Regions from separate parts of the Homo sapiens genome. Here all the other regions are linked to region 6. The links are contacts of gene promoters, found by promoter capture Hi-C in blood cells and fetal thymus (Javierre and others, 2016). All regions are on one chromosome and are shown on one strand. The core of a region is centred on a gene start or on the middle of the fragment in contact, and the rest is flanking DNA. Distances in the headings are between cores, read along the strand shown. Region 1 has its middle 26 kb from the start of ZNF648. Region 2 holds the start of TOR1AIP2 (torsin 1A interacting protein 2). Region 3 holds the start of CEP350 (centrosomal protein 350). Region 4 has its middle 4.4 kb from the start of TEDDM1. Region 5 has its middle 89 kb from the start of ZNF648. Region 6 holds the start of MR1 (major histocompatibility complex, class I-related). Region 7 holds the start of RNASEL (ribonuclease L).

What was found. Contacts are between HindIII fragments. The CHiCAGO score rates a contact against its expected background, and 5 or more counts as called.
Region 1: a contact is called between a fragment that was not itself captured here and the fragment with the promoter of MR1 in region 6, in 1 of 17 cell types (naive B cells). The highest score is 5.3, in naive B cells.
Region 2: a contact is called between the fragment with the promoter of TOR1AIP2 here and the fragment with the promoter of MR1 in region 6, in 6 of 17 cell types (fetal thymus, total CD8 T cells, naive B cells and 3 more). The highest score is 8.4, in fetal thymus.
Region 3: a contact is called between the fragment with the promoter of CEP350 here and the fragment with the promoter of MR1 in region 6, in 13 of 17 cell types (naive CD8 T cells, activated CD4 T cells, total CD4 T cells and 10 more). The highest score is 14.4, in naive CD8 T cells.
Region 4: a fragment that was not itself captured here is called in contact with the fragment with the promoter of MR1 in region 6 in 2 of 17 cell types (fetal thymus and M0 macrophages); the score reaches 5.4 in fetal thymus.
Region 5: a contact is called between a fragment that was not itself captured here and the fragment with the promoter of MR1 in region 6, in 1 of 17 cell types (M1 macrophages). The highest score is 6.8, in M1 macrophages.
Region 7: the fragment with the promoter of RNASEL here is called in contact with the fragment with the promoter of MR1 in region 6 in 2 of 17 cell types (total CD8 T cells and total CD4 T cells); the score reaches 6.2 in total CD8 T cells.

The regions. Positions count from the first base shown.
Region 1 is chr1:182,033,852-182,036,752 of GRCh38, forward strand. No RefSeq gene overlaps it. Among named protein-coding and RNA genes, the nearest start is that of ZNF648, 26 kb to the right of the region's middle. The HindIII fragment of the contact is 1,880 bases long and covers 677-2,556 here.
Region 2 is chr1:179,876,547-179,879,426 of GRCh38, forward strand. TOR1AIP2 (torsin 1A interacting protein 2) reads right to left here and starts at 1,257. Exons shown (of 7, transcript NM_001199260.2): 1 at 1,147-1,257; 2 at 693-827. RefSeq lists an enhancer at 1,232-1,591. The HindIII fragment of the contact is 9,006 bases long and covers 1-2,880 here.
Region 3 is chr1:179,953,406-179,956,447 of GRCh38, forward strand. CEP350 (centrosomal protein 350) reads left to right here and starts at 1,405. Exons shown (of 38, transcript NM_014810.5): 1 at 1,405-1,737. RefSeq lists an enhancer at 1,101-1,602 and a silencer at 1,390-1,839. The HindIII fragment of the contact is 10,111 bases long and covers 1-3,042 here.
Region 4 is chr1:182,394,769-182,397,798 of GRCh38, forward strand. No RefSeq gene overlaps it. Among named protein-coding and RNA genes, the nearest start is that of TEDDM1, 4.4 kb to the right of the region's middle. The HindIII fragment of the contact is 1,254 bases long and covers 854-2,107 here.
Region 5 is chr1:182,148,858-182,151,717 of GRCh38, forward strand. No RefSeq gene overlaps it. Among named protein-coding and RNA genes, the nearest start is that of ZNF648, 89 kb to the left of the region's middle. The HindIII fragment of the contact is 2,255 bases long and covers 482-2,736 here.
Region 6 is chr1:181,032,594-181,035,731 of GRCh38, forward strand. It overlaps MR1 (major histocompatibility complex, class I-related), which reads left to right and starts at 1,390. Exons shown (of 6, transcript NM_001385161.1): 1 at 1,390-1,481. The coding sequence starts at 1,415. RefSeq lists enhancers at 570-759, 960-1,059, 1,190-1,299. The HindIII fragment of the contact is 2,248 bases long and covers 728-2,975 here.
Region 7 is chr1:182,587,775-182,590,830 of GRCh38, forward strand. It overlaps RNASEL (ribonuclease L), which reads right to left and starts at 1,482. Exons shown (of 7, transcript NM_021133.4): 1 at 1,393-1,482. RefSeq lists an enhancer at 1,198-1,357. The HindIII fragment of the contact is 1,344 bases long and covers 224-1,567 here.

The DNA of each region.
Region 1 (2,901 bases), core at 367-2,866, 1.0 Mb after region 6:
CAAATTTATGCAATGGACTGAAAGTGTCCACCCTAAAATGCATATGTTGAAATCCTAATCCCGGTGGGATAATATTTGAAGGTGGGGCCTGTGGGAGGTGATCAGGTCATAAGGGTGGAGCCTCATGATTGAAATTAGTGCCTTTTATAAGAAGAGGTCCAAGAACTGCTAGCTCTCCTTCTGCCGTGTCATGATCCAATTAGAAGTCAGCAGCAGTCTGCAACCTGGAAGAGGACCTTCACCAGACCCTGACTCTGCTGGTGCCCTGATCTTAGACTTCCAAGCCTTCAGAATTGTGAGAAATAAATTTCTGTTGTTTATAAGCCATCCAGTTTATGGTACTTTGTTGGAACAGCCAAATGAATAAGACAATTTATATGAATAGACTTATGGTTCTGTGACTTGGTTTTTTCACTCAACATTTTCTAAACCTGTACTTACAGCTTCGCTTCATTCATCTTAACTGCTATTTAACATCCCATTATATTAATAAAACACAATTGATTTATGTATTCTTTTACTGATGAATATTTAAAATGTTTCCAAAGTTTTGCCATTACAAATTATGCTGCAATTAATATTCTTACATATATTTATAATCTCCTCATGTATACTTAAATTTCTTAAGGGGGAGTGGTCTCCTGCTATGCTGATTGTGTTGCCTCATCAATAAAAAAGCTTAACTGCTTATCCTCAATATGTCTCTATTTATAAATTATATAAATGTCCTATTGTATTAACATGTAATACCCATTATCAAATGTAAATTTTTTCTTAAAAGATAAGTACAAAATTCTACTATTTTCTTCCCATATCCCATTTGAATTGCTAAGGTATAAGGTATAGATATATTGATGATTACTGATACTACTATCATATCATCATCATCATACTGTATTAATAGTATTATATCAATGTAATATTAAACATCATTATATTACTCTCCAAGAACTGTACCAATAATTTGCATTCCTTTTATCAGAGTATGAAAATTTCCATTTCTCCACATCCTTACCAACACTTGATGTAAATATGTACTTTTAACATTTTATTTTGAAAAAATTTCAAACTAGCAGAAAAGTTGTTAGAATAATACAATGACATCCTGTATAACCTCCACCTAGATTCACCAATTAATAACAGTTTGCTGCAGTTGCCTTTTTTTCTCTTTGTCTATCTCCCTCTTTTCTTTCCTCCCTTCCCTCTGTTGTAGAAAAAGCTAGGCTCCTGTCACACAACCAGGAAAATTTAGGCATGCAGACACATTGTAGGGTGAATAGGGCTGTGTTTATTGGGTGAAAAGGAAAAAAGGCAAGAGGAACTCTCAGTAAAGTGAGAGAGAGTCCTGCTAGCAGGCCCCCCACCTTACAGATTGAATCCCAGGCCACCACACAGGAAATGAAGAGGCCAGGCTCCTCCCCATGCAGGGATTTCCTCTGGCTCCACTCCCTTCCCCCAGAGCACAGGTGGCCATTATTCAGAGAGAATCAGTCAGGAAAGGGTGTGCTTTTTCCGGGACTAGCAGTCCAGTTCTTCAGCCTTCAGGCTGTTGTAGGCTTGAAGGTGGGCTTTCACCAGGGACCCTTGGCTGTCTCCTGTCTCTATCATTCCCCCTTCTAAAGAAGTACATCTAACTGCTGTTAGGATAAGGATAAGGATAAGGATAAGGGTTAAAGATAAGGATAAGGACAGTAAGACAATCTTAACTGCCTCCTGCTGACAGGGGGCGCTGTTTTGGGACTACGGCAGTCAGATCTCCCTCAAAGGCCTATATAACGGTTTCTGGCAAAAGGGGCCATCATCCGAGGCTCTGGATGCATGACCTTTTAGAGTTTGATGGCCTGAGGCGAGAAGAAACAAATCAGGTTGTTAGAAAATATGTATTAAAACGAAACAAGGTGAGTAAGGACAGCTCAAAAATCCTAAGGCCTTTTACCAGTTTGCACTGGGAGAAGGAGGCCAAAAGCCCAACTGGAAAAAAAAACTTTTACCCTTGTGCCAGCATCTCAGGCTTCTGGGTTCCCTTTCCCCAAGCCCAATCCTATGCCAATGAGTTTAAGGTTTGGGAAATTAACTTTTTCCAGTTTGGAGGATGCATCCAAGGGGAGTTTCCTGTAGTATGAAGACACAATTACTTTTCAATGAAGAGAGGACAGAGGAAGAAAAAGGAAAAAAGAAGGCATTTTTTTCAGAGGACTCTCAGGGGTTCAGGATGCATTTGAAAGGGATACAGACTGAAGATAAATGGCTACTCATCTAGAAAGAGAGAAGCAGGTGTCCCTGCTTCCTTTCTTTCCCTGGAAAATACTCAGGGTACATGAGGGAGAGAAAGTGGGGCATTGCTCTTTGTATCCCCAAGTCCCAGTAACCATGACAGGGTGCCACCCATGGGTGTCAAAGCGGCTTTCACCCATTTTATCAGGGGGACCAGGATGGTGTGGGAGTATCTGCTCTTACCTACATATGCCCTATCTACCCTGCTGTCAGTAGCCTTTGAATTCCTTAGACCTCACTTATGCCATGGATACTAGCATGACTTTTATCCATGAAACCGGAAGCTTGGTTTAATCGGCAGGAATTAGTCATGTTCACCTGTGCTGTGCCTTTTAATTTCTGCTATTGTCTGCCTCTGGATCCCTCAGATCCAGTTTTCTTTCCTAGGGCTTTTACCCGAGCCTGGAATTGAGTGTGTCTCTGGGGCATTGCATGGATTCCTTATCATAAGCCGAATGCTACAATGAAGCTGTGGGATTGAGTCCTCCTCCAACAAGGGAGAGAAAAGGACATCCAGATAATTGGTGACTATAGATATGCTTGCTAAGGTTTGGAATGCATGGGGCTTGGCTTTGGTTAGCTCTCTTGGTCTTACTTTCCCAAAAAGGAAACCTCCGGGTTATGGGC
Region 2 (2,880 bases), core at 7-2,506, 1.2 Mb before region 6:
ACAAAGTCTTCCAAAAACATCTGTAGTTACTCTACCATGAAGTTCCTTTTTTTATTAAATGTTTCCACTGGCCTTTTATATCCTCATCTTGTGCTCAAAAAAAAAAGCTCAAAAAACATGGATAACTGCCACAGCTTAAAACAAAGAAAGGATCTCTCATACAGATCCAAAATAAAATGTGTTAAAACCTAAAGACAGGTAAAACAAAGCCAGTATGTTTAATCTATGTAACTCATTTCTGGATCTGTGTAACAGTATAAAGTCTGATAATTAAGCATTACTCATAAAGTAGAGAGTACTATGAAATTTGTTAAAAGAAGGAAAAGGCACAAACTTTTTCATCAGGTATTAAATACAATTGGGAGAATGGTACATATATAATATGTAAGCAAAATGGTAGGAGGTCTTACTAAAACTTCAACTTTGCCCTTTTTAGCACCAATTTTTTTTTTTTTTAAGTATTATCTTTTCAGGATTAAGATTATGAATGTCGAGAACCTAGGCATGTTGGGAATGGAGTAATCGCCGCCTACACTAGTAGGCAAATTTCCCACTCACATTTCGAACCCTAAAATAATTCGGCTTCTCACCTTAAAGTCTAAACCCAAAAATTTACTCACATCTTAACCCATTTAATATTTATAAGATTCAGTTTCTTTTTATCCCAAAACAAAAATATACCCCCAACCTACCTCGTTTACTGTTTGAGTGAGGCCAGGCGTGGTGGCTCACGCCTGTAATCCCAGCACTTTGGGAGGCTGAGGTGGGAGAATCGCTTGAAGCCAGGAGTTCGAGACCAACCTGGGCAATACAGTGAGACCCTGTCGCTATAAAAATAAAAAATAAAGTAATTAGTAGGGCATGGTGGTGCGGGCCTGTAGTTCCAGCTACTTGGGAGGCTGAGGCGGGAGGATCCCTTGAGCCCAGAAGTATGAGGCTGTGGTGAGCTATGATCACGCCACTGTACTCTAGCCTCGGTGACAGGGCAAGTACCTGTCTCAAAAACAATAAAAATAAAAATACCATTTGTGCGGTACGAAGGTGGGGGTGGGGAGGGACCGTTTCTGAAAGTCCTTTTCAAAAATTCAAGATATCAGTTTCAATACTAAAACATGGAAAAGCTGCATAGTCATTTTGTTTACTTACAAATTCTGGCGAAGTTTTAAATCGTAAAACTGTTAGTATCAGGAGAGCCCTTCGAGTATTCTCTCCGCTCCACACCGCTCGGCTGCACCCAGCGGCCGCCGCGGCCCGAATGTCGTCCAGGGTCCCCGCCCATATGACAAACACTTTCCGCCGGAAGGCGCCCGTGGAATCCTGGGACTAGTAGTCTCCGTGCCCTGCCTTCTGCCTTCTCCATCCTTCACCCTCTACTGCCAGGTCGTCTGACCCAGCGACAGGCGCGGTAAATGCGCGACCAAACCGCAGAGGTCCCATGCAATCTCATGCTGACAGGATTACAGGCATCTCTGTAAGACGTCGACCACCCTGACCTGAAATTCATAGACTGAAGAAACTCATAGGACCAACACAGTGAGCAGCAGTACCAAATGATAATGGCAAGCACCATGTCCTGGAACACACCCTCTGTGCCATTAAGAGGAGCATGTAATCCAATGAGTTGCCTAATCTAAACCTCAGTTTGCTCGTGTGTCAAATGGGGACAACGTTACTTACCTCATAAGTTTGTTATTAGTAGATTAGATGACGTATGCAGCATTTCTGTTAAATGACAGTAGTGACAAAAAATAGCTGTTTTGATCTACTAATTTTATAAATGTGAAAATTAAGAGATGGCGAGCAATTTACCCAAGAACATACAATTTGTTGGGGGAAAAATGAAGTAAGTCTAAAATTCCTGTTCTTGACCTACAGCAATTCAGGACAAATCTAACCAAATTTCAAGAAGAAATCTATTCATGTAAAACTCCCTTCCCCTTTCCTCTTTTTTTTCCCATAACAGTCCTGACCAACACACTATTTTACTTATTTTGATTTTTGCCCGACTCCTCCCATAGAATATAATCTCCAAGAAGGCAGGAAACATTTTTTGTCTTTTAGTCTATTTTGTTCACTGCTGTATCCCCAGCACAGAGAACAGGGACTGCCTACTACACAGTAGCTCAAGTATTTATTGAATTAATAATTCCTCATTTAATGTGATTTTTGGTGCCTTCACTTCTCAATCACCCTCTCTTGGCAGAAGTGACAGGATTTGGTAACACTCTTGGATGGTGTTTAATAATTAACTGCAAGTCCTAATTCAACAAAAAGAATACTATATTCCATTCACTTTATTGTGTTTAATTAATTTCAGTATAACATTTCCAGGAATTTTCATTTGTATTGTCATTAAAATATTTTTCTATCATTTGTAAGACTGGGGAATAAATGGAGCCAGCTACTATGTCTTTAATTAACTTCCTCCTGTTTAATATTTTAATCATCTTTTCCTTATTAAAATTGTTTGCCTACTTCATTTGTACTACTAAGTCACAACGGATAGATTTATCTCTTTAAATAAATGAACTTCTGCTTACCCTAAAGCAAAAAGTTCCTGTACAAAAAATTTATTGTTCTAAAATGTTTCATTTAAAATAATTATTTTGGCCAGGCGTGGTGGCTCACACCTGTAATCCCAGCACTTTGGAAGGCCAAGGCGGATGGATCACCTGAGGTCAGGAGTTCAAGACCAGCCTTGCCAACATGGCAAAATCCATGTCTACTAAAAATACAAAAATTAGCTGGGCATGGTGGCAGGCACCTGTAATCCCAGCTACTCGGGAGGCTGAGGCAGGAGGATCACTTGAACCTGGAGTTGGGGGAGGCTGCAGTAAGCCGAGATTGCACCACTGCACTCCAGCCTAGGCGAAAGAGCGA
Region 3 (3,042 bases), core at 155-2,654, 1.1 Mb before region 6:
TGGGATTACAGGCACCCGCCACCACGCCCGGCTAATTTTTGTATTTTTAGTAGAGACGGGGTTTCACCATCTTGGCCAGGCTGGTCTTGTACTCCTGACCTCGTGATCCACCCGCCTCGGCCCCGCAAAGTGCTGAGATTACAGGCGTGAGCCACTGTGACCGGCCAGTACGTGTTTCTTCGTTTTAAAAAAGTGAGTATATTTAATAAGGTGGTTGTTTACATTCAGTAAAATAGCGCATGAAAAGCATCTAACACAGGGCTTTAAACAGCAAGACTGGGCAAAACCTAAATAACATTTTCCTTATGTTGTCTTTTTTGCTACCACTTGCACCATACGATTACCCACATTTCCTGTCCCCTCCAGTGCAGCTTCCTGGAGACACTTCACACGTATGCAGGACTTCTGTACATCCTACTCAGGCACAGCTGTAGGCCCTACAAAGAGGGACCATTTACTGCCTCCTGCTGTCATTGATATTCGACAAACATTTATTGAGCACCTACAATGTCCTAGTTACTGTGCTAGGCCATTTTGGGGTATAGAGAGATAAAACAGATCTTAAAGTCTTCACGACACTTAAAGATGAGAAACAGTCTCTGGGTAAATAACTATCGGAGTTCAGAAGGTGGACAGAAGTGGTGGGCGGCGAGTCTGTGTGCAGTGAGCACCTAGCGGAAGATGGCATTATTTGCAGAAGAGAGGTCCTTTAAGCCAAGTCTTGATAGATGATTTCACCACGCGGAGATTGGGAAACGAGGACAAAGATATGAGAAGATATGTTGGCCACAGAGAGCCTCTCAAAGCACTGTTAAAGCAAAGCCAATACTTAATGGGAGGAAACTCCGTTTTACTTGCGTGGAGTCTTAAGTCATTAGATGCATGCTAAACAGAACTGTAACCCTCGCGAATAAAACGGCCACAGTGACAGCAGTGGGTAACGGCAGAGCTGCAACTACTCTGACAGGGGTGACGACTTATTTGGACGACAGTTGGTGAAACATTGTAAACTCTCAGAAGCTGCCGTTTCCAGACTTTGAGTTCATTCTTGTCGAATCCCCAGCTTGTTTTCTCAGCCCGGGGTGAAATGCGCAGCCAAAAGGCCCAATGAGCGTCAAAGCGAAAGGGCAGGGGTGGTCTCTTCTGCGGATATACCTTGGCTCCTCCCAAGTCCTACGAGTTTAAACTTCGACGCACCAAACATGGCTTCTTCGCGGTTCTGCTCCTTGTTTTATTTCGCTCCCACCTTTCGGCCACACTCAACATGGCCCTAACCGAAGGTTGGCATGCCTGTGGCACTGTCTCGGGACAGTTCTCGCGAGGTTTGCCTGGGCCCGACTGCTCCCGCCCTGCCTCGCGCCGCCGCCACAGCCGCTGCCGCTGGCGCCGCTCCTCCTCCGTGTCAGTTGTTGGGCTGTAATGGCGACTGGGCCGCCCCTGACGAAGTGACTCCCGGGCCGGGGAGCGGGGCCAGACCTGCGCCAGAGAGAACTGCAGGGAGCCGCAGCTCGGGGGGTGGCTTGCCCTGAGGGAGGGGAGGCAGCCTTTCCGCCTTGTCTTCCTTCCCAGCGGACCGGCGGATCCCCGGAGCCGGTGCGAGGAGGGCACCCGGTGCGTCCCCGGAGCGGGGAGGCCAGGCCGGGCAGCCCTGGGGCCGGTCGGGGCGGCGTCACTGCACCCTCCGCCAGGCTCCGCGGGATGCACCGTGGTAGCCGAGGGCGGAGGCGACACTCTCAGGTGAGCTCCTGTAGGACCTGGCTGGGACCGCGGAGTCTCGCTCAGCCTCAACTGTCTCTGTCCGCGGTCCCGGGTCCCCGGTGGCGGCAAGAGAGGCGGGGCCGGGCGCGGAGAGTCTTGGCCCTGCTTGGCGTCCCCCTCGGGGAACCTCCCTGGGTTCTGAGGCTTTTCGGGGACCTAGGTTTCGGGTCCCACCAGTGCCTGCTGAAGACGGAATTTCCTTCCTTACGTGCCAGTGTCCTCCCGCCTCCTCCACCCCTCCTCTAGCCTGCAGAGGTAAGATACCTCTAGCCTTTGCTGCCCGGAGAAGTGTCCCTTCTTCATCTGGCGATCAGGCGTATTTGGGGAGATTCCGGGGACTGGCTCCAGTGGCAGGGATGATCAGTTTCTGTTCCTTTTCAGTGGGGATCACATTCTCAAGTATAGGGAAAACTTTGATCTACTCTAGTCTAGCGGCTGCTGAAGGTAGTTTATTCACAGATAATTTGGGGAAAGATTTAAAAGGCTTTATGTTTTGGAAGTTGTCAGTATTTTCCTCTGCCTTTTAAATGCAGCTCAACATGCTAAGTAATATTTAGCTAATGTCACAAGATATGAATTGGAATTTGCCTGGATTTTAAATATTCAGATAGAAAGTTGCACATAGGCATAGATTTTAATGTTTTAATGCAGTAGCAAATCCTTCATATGGGAAAAAACAGGTTGTCAGAAATAGTGATCAATATCCATGTACTCCACCTGATTGTTTTGTTTTGATGGTGATCCTTGTTTTGAATTTGGGGAAGTCGTTATTGTTGCCATGTTAACGATACCTCCTGCCCTGTATTTGAAGAGTTTTAAAAGAAAGACTATCTTTGGCAGAGCTAGTAACAATCTGAAAAGTTCTGTAGAAACAATGATAAAATACTAAAAGTTGCCCTCCATTCTGAAAATTTCTTCGTTTAATATATTGTTTTTAAACAAGGAAATGCACTGCTAATGACATGGAATTGTGACTTTGAGGGATTGTTAGACCCATGCTGGAAGTTGCTTCAAAGCCATGGGCGTATAATAATTAGTTTCGGTGTGCTAAATTGACAAATTTTATTTAATGTAATGAAATAAATCTGAATCATTTGAACTGTCAGTGCATTAAATTTAAGATACTGTAATCTGAAAATAAACTTCAAGCTAGAATACATTGTATATGTGGATAAATACATGTGTATCTCTGTATCTCTTCATCCTCAGTAGCAAAATTTTGTGTATGTAGAGATGGCAAGTTGTATATGTAAAAAATTTCATACGTATGTGAACATATTTCTT
Region 4 (3,030 bases), core at 231-2,730, 1.4 Mb after region 6:
TTAGGATTTTGCTCTACTCCCAAATCTTATCTCTATTAGGAAACAACTTTTCTCTTTTTTTTTTTTTTTTTTTTTTTTTTTTTTGAGACGGAGTCTTACTCTGTTGCTCAGGCTGGATGCAGTGGCGCAATCTCGGCTCACTGCAACCTCCACTCACTGTAACCTCTGCCTCCCGGGTTCAAGCAATTCTCCTGCCTCAGCCTCCCAAGGAGCTGGGATTACAGGCGTGTGCCACCACACCCAGCTAATTTTTTGGTATTTTTAGTAGAGACGAGGTTTCACCATATTGGCCAGACTTGTCTTGAACTCCTGACCTTGTGATCCGCCTGCCTCGGCCTCCCAAAGTGCTGCGATTACAGGCGTGAGCCACTGTGCCCGGCCCTTTCTCTGTCTTTTAAAGGATCCATTCTCACTCTGCAAGTATGAAGTCCTTTACCTGGGGATCTGGAGTGCCTTCCCAGGGCCTGTGTGGTTGCCTTATACACATTAGACACAAAATTTAGGGTAGGGCTCACATTGACCAAACCTTTTCTGTTTAGGAAATGGAGTTTTCCCTGTGTATGAATGATTTCAATAGGCATTCAGTGAGACCTTTAAATCATGTTAAAGAGATACAATTGAGACTCAGGGTTGGGGAACACCCTGGAAACCCAACCCAGAATTGTAAAATATTCTTTTAAAAATTATTATTATGTAATAAACCAACATCAGTTCTTTCCAAAAGAATGGACCATAGTAGAATCTTAAACCAAATCAAAATAATAATAATAAAAATGAAGAAGAAAAGAAATAGCTCTGGAAGTTGATAGCATTATTCTTAAACCATAATTTAGGGAAAAGCTGTAGTTGGCCAAGCTTTCAAATTTCACTTTATACAATTAGAGAAGGAAAGACTACATTTACATTATACTTCAGTTCAATAACTAGCACTAAGAATGGAGGAATTGTTCTTTACAGTTTTTGATTGTTTGATATTCTTCAGTTCAAGACAGGAAATTGGAAATTCACGTCTCAGCCATATCTGTAGCCTGATTTGAGTTTTGTAGGATGCGTGCTGAAATCAGTCAAATACAAGGAACACTTCATTTCCCCAACTGCGTGTTATGATGGAAGGTTTGGGTCTGTTTGAGCTCTACCCTGAATCATGTCTCTAGCAGGAAACTACGTGGAAAGTTGGGAAGAATCAAGTTCATCTTAGTTAACAACCTGGGGAAAATGTCCTATTGAGAAAATTAAAGCCATACAATTCTAGAATTAGATCTTCACATCATTCTATCTTAAAGATGAGGAACTGAGGCTTAGATAACTCATAGTAACTTGATGAAGTCATGTTTGGTTAGTATTTTAGAGCTTAATGAGCTTTCAAGGTGCTGTTCTTTTTCTGTTCCCTTTCCTTTAGTCGCTTTGGTCTGTGGGTGATCTGTTCCGGGGCCACCATCTCTAAAATACTGAAATTCCTACAGTCCTCACTGAGGGAGGTGCAGAGGACAGGGAGCAACCATTTACCTCTCAATCCTGGGTATGCTTACCCAGTGACTTCTGTATAGCAGACACTCAATATATATTTTCTTTGTGAATAACTAGATTAGCAGAAAAAAACAACACCATAGGAAAGATTCTCTTTGAAGGACTCTTTGGAGATCATTTTTCACATCTGATAATCTGCCTCCAGTTTCATTGTTTTGTGAATCGGGTTTTTTTAGATACATTTTGTCCTTTATTCTCAATTTACACTGTACAGATCGTTGTTCTGTAGATTGATTGGAACATTATTGAAGCTAATTAAAAAATTTAGAGAATTTAGCATTCTGATCAAAAAATTATTTAGATCAGAGTATGTGCTTTAGTTGGTACCATTCCCAAAGAAATCCTCAATGGGATCCACAGCCCTTCCTCCCTCCCCTCCCACCTCATTAGTTAATTTGGATCCCTGTTTATTTCACATTGACTCGCCAAATTTTAACAGGAAACAAACAGCCCTAGGGTATGTTTTCTGGATGCTTGGGCAATTCTTAGTCTGCTTCTGGATTTTTCCTGTCCGTTCTCCTCTTCCACTTCTTTTAAACCCGTTCTCCGGAGACTTGTTTACTGGGGTTGGAGAATCAGAAGCTTGGCCGGGGTGGTGTGAACCTAGTGCCCTCTTGTGGAATTTTGTGAGAATGACAAACTCCCCCAAAGCTTGAGTGCTTTGAGTTTTTTCTTGAGTAGCCTTTAGTGGGAGGACCTTTCTGTTACATCTTAAATCTAGTAAGTTAATAACATGCAGGCTTATTGCCTACACTGAATATTTGAAAGCTATTATGTTGGGGGGTATCACTTGATTACCAGAGGCTTATTGTTATAGAATTAAGCCTCATTACAGGAAACAGGCAGCTAAGTGTTTGTGCTTTTTCATCACCTCCCATTAATGTGTAAGAGAGGTAAAGAGAAAAGGAAGGCTCCCAAAGAAAAGTAATTGAAAAAAGGCTAGGAACCAAGAGTAAAGGGGAAATGGCAAACTTTAGAAGCCTTGGTCAAAAACAAGTCTTATCCCCAGCTCTTGCTTTGGATCTGAGCCCAGAAATGTAAGACCCAGCCAGAAGTTGAGAGTCTGCCAGATTCTCACCCCCCGGGGGAGATGGGGGTCAGGGTAGGGGACAGAAAGTGTTGCATAAACCCACTCCTAAGGGAGGTCTAGGGTGTTTACACTGTGCTGTTTGCTTTACCTGGGCTTTCTGGCTTGTTTTCTTTTCTTTCTTTCTTTCTTTCTTTCTTTCTTTCTTTCTTTCTTTCTTTCTTTCTTTCTTTCCTTCCTTCTTTTCTTTTTTCTTTTTTTTTTAAGACATAGTCTCACTCTGTCACCCAGGCTAGGGTGCAGTAGTGCAATCTCAGCTCACTGCAACCTCCGCCTCCCAGGTTCAAGTGATTCTCCTGCCTTAGCCTCCCAAGTATCTGGGATTATAGGTGTGGGCCACCACACCTAGCTAATTTTTGTATATTTAGTAGAGACAGGGTTTCACCATGTTGACCAAGCTGGTCTCGAACTCCTGA
Region 5 (2,860 bases), core at 359-2,858, 1.1 Mb after region 6:
ATTTCATTGAACACCTGGGACATCTCAGCTCTGGGAAGATCTTCCTATTACATCTCACTGCCTCCCTATTCCTGCTTCACTCTGGAAGTCCTCAGGTTATTAGGGAAAGCTCTAAAGGTGGAGGGCTGCTGGCAGGGAGATAAACATGCAGGGACAAGAGGCAGGAGTGGACGAAAACTAAGAGATACAGCAAAGATGTACGAGAGTAAGAAAACACTTGCATTCCTTCCCACGCACAGCCAGGTTGCTAGGAAGGACCTAAGACCTATGTCAGCCCTTGCCACCCTTACCAGGCAGTGACCTTGGAGAGGGACTTCAGAGACCAGAGCTTTCATACTAAAGGAAGATTGGAGGTTGTGATTATTGTTCACTATCCGAGGTCCAACTTTGTTCTGATTCAGTCTCATTTCTTTCACATCTTGACTGTTACTGAGTACTGGGGTTTCTTTTCAAAATAACAGAGATATGTGAACTCAGGAGAAGCTTCAGGAAGAAGCCTTTGAGGGGAACCTGGGGTTAGGTTTTAGAGGAAGACAGAAGAAGAGGAGGAGCTGTCTTTGATAGGAGCATCTGACGACAGAAGATCTCTGTGGAGGTGCTTCTGAAAGACTGGTAACAGAGGGCTCCATGAGAAAGCTCGTCAAGGGAAGGGGGAAGTGGTTCCGAGAAATGAGCTCAGAAGAGCTCTGACTTCACGTTGCCATGGTGGCAACATCCTTGCTCCATTACAACATACATCACCTAACACATGACAAAAGCAGTCTGCAAAGGGGAAGGGACGGCTGAATCAAGCCCTGCTGAGTCACTGTAGTTAACTTCCCACTCTCTGTCCACTGCATTTCTTTAGAGCTTCTTGAGACTGGCCCTCACGGCCCAGCTTTGGGTAAATTATTGGCTCAAGAATTCAGCTTTGAATTCAATCTTCCCAGATAGGATCCTCATGGCCTCTAGTTTGGCCATTCAGTCTTTCCAGGTAGGTTCCTCATGGCCTCTCTCTTACTAGGCCATTACTCTCCTTGTTTGCCTTGACTCCTGAAAGCTGTGTGTTTTGGTATTTTTCCCCTACAAGCAATTTTAACTTTCTTTTTTTGCATAGACCAGCCATGGCTCCCTGTGATTTCAATCCCAGCTCAATATCACATTCCCTCAGACCATGTTGTTTTAGCCTGGCCCTGACATTCTTACAGCTAATTTATTCATTTCTTGCCCTGAAAAACCTCTAAGTCTTAGCCCAGCCCTGGGAACAAGACAGGATTAGTCTTGTGTGGATTTTTGAACTTGACAGTTGAAGACTTTAGATACCTAAAATCAAACTCACTTGTGACCCAGGCCACTCAATGCTACAAGTACACAGAGGGACAGTCCTTGGGTATGTTGCTATGTGACATACAACATGCATGCTCATTAGGATCCCTCATGAAGGCAGGCACTGACATACTTACTCCTTTGAAACCCTAAATTTAGACCAAAGGAAATGTCACCTCAAATTGGGCCCATGGTCCATCCAAATCAGGCAATAACAACAGCCAACATCTGCTACATGGTGCTGACATTCTGCTAACCACTTCTCAAGCATTTGCTTCCTTACTATGGTTGTTCTCAAAACAATCCTGAGGGGTGGATATCATCATCAACAGTTTACAAACAAGTAGGGAACTTAGATAAAGCACGGATCACCCTTGGACAAGTTTGAACTGCATGGGTTAACTTACAGGTGAATTTTTTTCAACAAATATATTGGAATATTGTTTGGAGATTTGTGAAAATTTGAAAAAAACTCACAGACCAACGGTGTAGCCTAAAAATATCAAAAAATTAAGAAAAGGTTATGTCACAAATACATAAAGAATAAAAAGATGTTAGTCTATTTTATCATTTACTACCATAAAATATACAAATCTGTAAAAATAAGTTAAAATTTATCAAAATTTACACACACACTTACAGACCAGTGCCATTTGCAGTCAAGAGAAATCCAAACAAACATAAAGATGTAGTATTAAGTTGTCACTGCATAAAGTTAACCGTTTGGAGTCACCCCCTGCTGCTATTGCAGTGAGCTCCAATATCATGAGTATCCACTTAAAACACTGTGTGATGCTGATCATCTAGAGTGAGCAGTTTGTCTCTCCAGTAAATTGGTTCTCACTTATTTTTCATCATGTTTAGTGCATTCCTATAAACTTTGAGTAACACTGTGGGACTTATATGAGGTGCCACTAATAATGTTGGAAGTGCTCCCAAAAAATAGAGAAAAGTCATGACATTCCTAGAAGAAGTTGAATTGCTTGATATGTACCATAGACTGAGGTCTGCAGCTGTGGCATCTGCCATTTCAGATGGAGGACTCATCTTAGAAACAGACAACATAAACTTACAGTAACAATACCTACAGTACTGTACTATAAATGTATTTTCTCCTCATGAGTTTCTTAATAATATTTTCTTTTCTCTAGCTTACTTTATTGTAATAAGACAGTATAGTACATATAGCATACAAAATACATGTTAATCATCTGTTTCTGGTTATAGGTAAGGTTTCCAAGCAATGGTAGATATCAGTAGTTAAGTTTTTGGCCACTCAAAAGTTATACACGGATGAATTTTCAATTGCACTGGGTGTCAGTGCTCCTAATCCCTGCATTAGTCAAGGCTCACCTATAATTGCTCAATGTCACCTATCTTGCATGCTATAGAACAGGACTTGGACCCAGATCTGTCTGAATCCCAAACCCAAGCTTTGAATCAATTAAACTCTTGGACTGCCAGGCACGGTGGCTTACGCCTGTAATCCCAGCACTTTGGGAGGCCGAGGTGGGAGGATCACAAGGTCAGCAGTTCAAGACAAGCCTGGCCAACA
Region 6 (3,138 bases), core at 140-2,639:
TCGAACAATGCAAATTTATTCTTTCAAAGTTCTGGAGGACAGAAGTCCAAAAATGTGTCCTATCAGCTGAAATCAAAGTGTTGTGTTCCTTCTGGAGGCTCTAAGGAGAATCTGTTCCTTCTCTTTTCTAGTTCTAGAGGCCATCTGCGTTCCTTGGCTCATGTCCTTCTTTCAGCAATGGCATCATCACTCTGACCTTTGCTTCCATTGTCACATCTCCTTGACTCTGACCCTTTTGCCTCCCTCTAATAAGGCCCCTCTGATTACACTGGGTCCACCAGATAATCCAGGATAGCTCTCTGTCTCAAGATCCTTAATTTAATCATATCTGCCAAGGGTTTTGTTTTGTTTTATTTTGTTTTTGCCATTTAAGGTAATATATCCACAGGTTCTGGCAATTAGGTTGTGGACATCTTTGGGGCGACAATTCTCAACCTACCATACAACCGGTACATAAGGTTCTACTACCTACTAAATGCATCATAAACAGAACTTCTGATCCTTCAACAACTCTGTGAAATATATGACAGGATTTGCTTTTAAAGTTGAAGAAATCAGGCCTTGGTGCAATTTGGGATTCTGCCCATGGTCAAATAGTGGGGAGGCAAACCCAGGTCCCTGAACCCAGCTCAAGCCTGCCTGCCTCATGGCCATGCCTCCATTCACCTCTCCCCTTCATGTCTACTTCCTCTTTCCTGTCTGGGCCTGTTCCCTAGCTCCCTGGACAAGCTTAAGCTGCTGTTTTCCAGCTTGTCATGTGCTCCTTATGACAGTGTAGCCACAGCTTGATCTTGGGGATTGCTGATTGAGCAAGCTGAGTGGCTGCCCCTCAGAATCTTCTGTAGGCCTTTCTCTTGCCTTCTTTTATTCAGTAAGTGTTTTGAGCTTATTGTGCTGGGTGCTAGAGTAGCAGGGAGGACAGACCTAAGTTGAAGATTACGGGACAATCTAAGTGACACCTGCTATCTCAGACAGAGACTTCAGCATCATAGGGAGCCAGAGCAGGGAGTTCCAAGCCGTGGGAACTGTGACTCTTTCTTACTGACCCTTAAGCAAAATTCTAAGCTCCAGGGAAGCAGAGGCAGCAGCTTGAGCTCCCTGATTGACCAGATATGATTAATCTTTGTTTCTCTGTGCTTTGAACATGACTATGCTCCATAAATATTTAAAAATTGGGAATAGGGTGAAGATAGATACACCAAAAGGAGCAAGCAGTGTCTGAAACCAGCAAAGACTTAAAAGTTACCGAAGAAGGTGTTCATGCTTTCATTTTATCTTTTTTTTTTAACCTAGCAACTGATGACACTGCATATCTTCCCCTGTTCTTATTGGGAGAAGGCCTTGTGTGTCACCAAGAGGTTCTCAGAAGGGACCTGTCAGTTTTTGGTTAAAAGAACCCGGAAAGAGAAGGACTATGGGGGAACTGATGGCGTTCCTGTTACCTCTCATCATTGTGTTAATGGTGAAGCACAGCGATTCCCGTGAGTATCCCACGTCCTCTTCTCTCCTAACTCCAAAGTCGAGGCAGCCTAGAAGGCACAGCTTTTCTTCCTAAAACTTGTGGTGAAAAATATAGAAGCCAGGGGCAGAAACGTGTATGTATTACACTCAGACTCCAGGAGCAATGGATTGCCTGAACAGTTTCCCAGTTCATATTTGTAGGATTTTGATGTCACCACCTTCTGAGGGAGGGGGAGCCGTTCTAGAAAGACTCTGGAACTTCCTCACTTTCCCTCTGAGCATGGCCTCCTTTCTTTTCTGCTCATATTTTTTCTTTTACTTTTGTTTCTCCTCTTTTCTAACTTCCAGAGTCTCATGAGGATGTAGTCAGAGTTTCAGGGGCATTAACAGTGGAGTAGATCCATTGTTCAGGTTTATTTATGTTTTTCCTCAACACAAGCCCTACCTGTAATAAAAGATCCAAGAAAGATAAAACCATGGCTCTGGGTTTGTTTACTGACTGTGAGAAGTATTAATCAAGTAGAAGGGAGAGTTTTTCATTATTCGGGGAGCTCAAGTCACTGGGGAAGCAAATGCCTTCTGTTGCCTCAAATAGGGGAAAGGGCCCATGGGCTAGAACCACCAGGCTTCTCTGCCCTAATCACTTGCTCCCTGGGCTGAGGACTGGTACTGGTGGGCAGTGTCCAGAACTTAGACTTGGCCACCACCATAGGTGTGACTGATGAACATGAGAGGAAGGAGTTCTTTCAAATCACCCATGCACATAGAGAGTGGAATGACTGACCATGGAGATTTGGAAGGGCGAGGGGGGTGGATGATTAGAAATTACTTAATGGGTACAATGTGTGTTACTTGGGTGATGGATACCTTAAAGCCCCAACTTGACCACTACACAATCTATGCTATAACAAAATTGCATGTGTACATCATAAATTTATACAAATAAAAAAATTTTAAATCATATGGCTGGGAGTGGTGGCTCACACCTGTAATCCTAGCACGTTGAGAGGCCGAGGCAGACGGATCGCTTGAGGTCAGGAGTTTGAAACCAGCTTGGCCATCATAGTGAAACCCCATCTCACTAAAAATACAAAAAATTAGCTCGGCACACCCATCTCTACTAAAAATACAAAAAATTAGCTGTGCACAGTGCGCACCTGTGATCCCAGCTACTCGGGAGACTGAGGCAGGAGAATCACTTGAACCCAGGAGGCGGAGGTTGCAGTGAGCCGAGATCATGCCACTGCACTCTAGCCTGGGTGACAGAGTGAGACTCCATCTCAAAAAAAAAAAATCCATATATTAATTGTTCAAATATTGATTGATGGCCTACTATGTGCCAGGCACTTTGGGGGATATGGCAGCGAACAAGACAAACATAGTCTCTGCTTCCATGAAAATTTAATCCAGAAAGTGTCATCATTTATGGGAAAGATTGGGGGTGAGGGTAAGAGGCAGAAGATGAAAGAGGAAAGGAGGAGAGAGGCAAAGGGTGATATTTTTGGAAATAATAAAGCTTATATATTACCTGCATGTGATTCTCAAAGAACTCTCCAATAATATGGAATAATATTCCTTAAACATATTATCTCCTATGACAATCTCACTGACTATTTGTAGTAGGTGAAGAAAATATCCCCATTTAAAGATGAGGCCTAGATTTTTCTCTAGGCCTAG
Region 7 (3,056 bases), core at 232-2,731, 1.6 Mb after region 6:
TGCATGTCCTCTTTGTACAACCCTGTGCCCCTATTTAAAGTACAGACAATATCTGACTTATGTTTTTTGACTTTGATTTATGATTTTTTGACTTTGCAGTGGTGGAAAAGCAATAAACATTCAGTAGAAACCACACTTCAAGTACACATACAACCATTCTGTTTTTTATTTCAGCATAGCATTCGATAAATACATGAGACATTTAACACTTTATTATAAAATAAGCTTTGAGCTAGATGATTTTGCCCAACTGTAGCCTAATGTAAGTGTTCTGAGCACATTTAAGGTAAGCTAGGATAAGCTATGACGTTCAGTAGATTAGGTGTATTAAATGTGCTTTTGACCTACAATATTTTCAATTTAGGATGGGTTTATCTGTATGTAACCCCATCATAAGTCAAGGAGTATCTGCAGTAGTGAAAAGAGCTTGTACTCTGACCTTAGGGAGATCTAAGTTTGAGCTTGTGGCTGTGTAATTTTTTACTATTACTTCCTGTAACCTTGGATTGTTGAATCTCAATTTTCTATTTCCTGAAATGGAGACAAAAATAAATACAGTCATGTGTGTAAAGTACATTAAAGTATGGAGTGTTGCAAATATTAGCCACTCAATGAATGTTAGAGCTAATTATATCCCGTTATGAAAAAATAAATTGCTTAGTGAATTCTATTCTCCCTACACATGTGCATATAGCTACTACACGAATAGGCAACTGGCAGCTATCAATTTCGTCCAACTGTCAATCAGATCTGAGAATTACAGATCCAGTTCAATCATCAGACAGCCCGAAACTGTTACCTGAATATTTAAATAACTGCATCTGCTATAGAATTCACGAAGCAACCCTTTTTCAGCAATCTCACCACTCTGACAGTTTCAAAGCCTCAGAGGTTAATTGATTAGCCTCTTAGAAGTTTAATTAATTGTGCAACACATACACGATCACCAGGCAATGAAATCTTTGAACCAAAGTGTTTGTGTAGACCGTCCCCATTACAATCAGATGTGAGGTGGGCTGGTATAAACAAAGGAGCCGGGAAGGAGAGGAAATATCAAGGAAGCCCTGAGTGACGCATCAGAGTAGAGAAGAGACGAGCCTGCGGAAGTACTCCAACAGACAATCCTGCTTTCAATTTCACTTTCTCTGTGCGACCTGAGTAAGTCGCAAAGAGATGCCTGAGAAACTGAGGACATGGATAAATGACGTGTGGACTCTGACAGAACTCTGGAAGGGCACTGGAGGAAGATCCTTCCGGGCAGCCAAGGGCTGGGAGCTCCCCTCCCACTTCCCAAGTCCTCCAGCCCCTGGCCTCTCCAGTCTCCAAAGCCCAAGAATTCTTCAGGATCGACTTATCGAGGTTTTCTAGCTTTCCTCCTTCTGCCTGCCTTACCTGCTCAACTCAGACGTCTCAATTATTCCTTTGGCAGCCGCAAAGCCTGGAAGACTGCTTGCAGCCCGAGCAGTTTCCTCCTGCTGCGTCACTGAGTCAGCAGGGCGGAGCCAAGAAAGGAGTGAGGAGTGTGGGAGGGAAAGCAGCCACAGGCTCACTCTGGCACCAGGAGCAAAGCTTCTACTTGCACACCTTCTGGAGGAAAGCAATAGCCACTTTCTGTCTGCTGATGAGGAATGTGATGCCCGGGGTCATGTCACTCACCTCTCAGTCTTGCAGCCTTTCAGGTGGCAGCAGCCAACTGCATCCATCACTCTTGCATCCTTTCTTTGTCATTGCAAATTCTGGTCTTCTTGGAAGAAAGGAATGGAAAGTAAACACATATTGAGCACCTATTGTGTTCCAGACACAATGCTTTACATGCAGCATGGTCCCAGTTAACCCCTGACAATCTTGTTGATTATGAAACGCAGGCTCATAGAAGCTAAGTAAGCCCAAAGCCCAAGCCCTGTCACCTTTCTCAGCTCACTCAACTCACAGCTCTGAGGCAGTGCGGCCTTCTCAGAAGGGTACCGGACTGGCAGTCTGGAGACCTGATCCTACAGCCAGCTCTGTGGCTGCTTAGCTGAGTGACCTCAGGCATGTGATTTAACCATGTAGGGCCTCAGTTCTCTCCTATAACTTGGTTTTGAAGGTTCCTTTCTGCTCTACAAGTTCTGTTCTTGACTATCTTCCTAGCAATGAGCTGTGTACTGTGTACTTAGTGCTGTAGTGGAAAGTATTTCCATCCCCAAAGAATACCCAGTCTTGCTGGGGAGACAAAGCCCTGGGACTTGTGAACAACAAGTAGTGCATGGTCACTTGACGACCACCTGTGTCACACCATCCAGACCCGGGGCCTCTACCACCCCTTATACACCAGGGATTCCCAGGCCTCGCTCTCTAACCCCAGCCTCTCTGCTGAGCTTTAGACCTACAAATCTTGAATATGTGTCAAATGGAAATACTCATCTTTTCCTAAATCTGCCCCTCCTCCCACTTATTCCATCTCCACAGATGGCACCATCACCCGGAGGCCACCCCTCATCCTCATCCCAACACCAAGTCTCTTGCTTTCATCTACAAAGGGATGACCATTCGAGTCCTTGTCATCATTTATAGCAAGAAATTGATGACTTGCTTCCTAGCCCTTCATCCATTGTTCCACCCTGCATCATTGACCCACCATCATTTTCAGGACAAAGTTCAAAAATCCTTAACCCATTATTCATTTAATTAATACTTGTTGGACAGGCGTGGTGGCTCACACCTGTAATCCCAGCACTTTGGGAGGCCAAGGCAGGCAGATCACCTGAGTTCAGGAGTTCAAGACCAGCCTGGCCAACATGGTGAAACCGCGTCTCTACTAAAAATACAAAAAGTAGCCAGGTGTGGTGTTGTGCACCTGTAATCCCAGCTACTCGGGAGGCTGAGGCAGGAGAATTGCTCGAACCCGGGAGGTGGAGGTTGAAGTGAGCCAACATAGTACCACTACACTCCAGCCTGGATGACAGAGCAAGACTCCGTCTCAAAAAAAAAAAAAAAACTTATTGAGCACTGACTATGTTACCAGTGACTATTCTGCATATCTGGCATAGAATGATTTACCACACCAGTTCCTCACA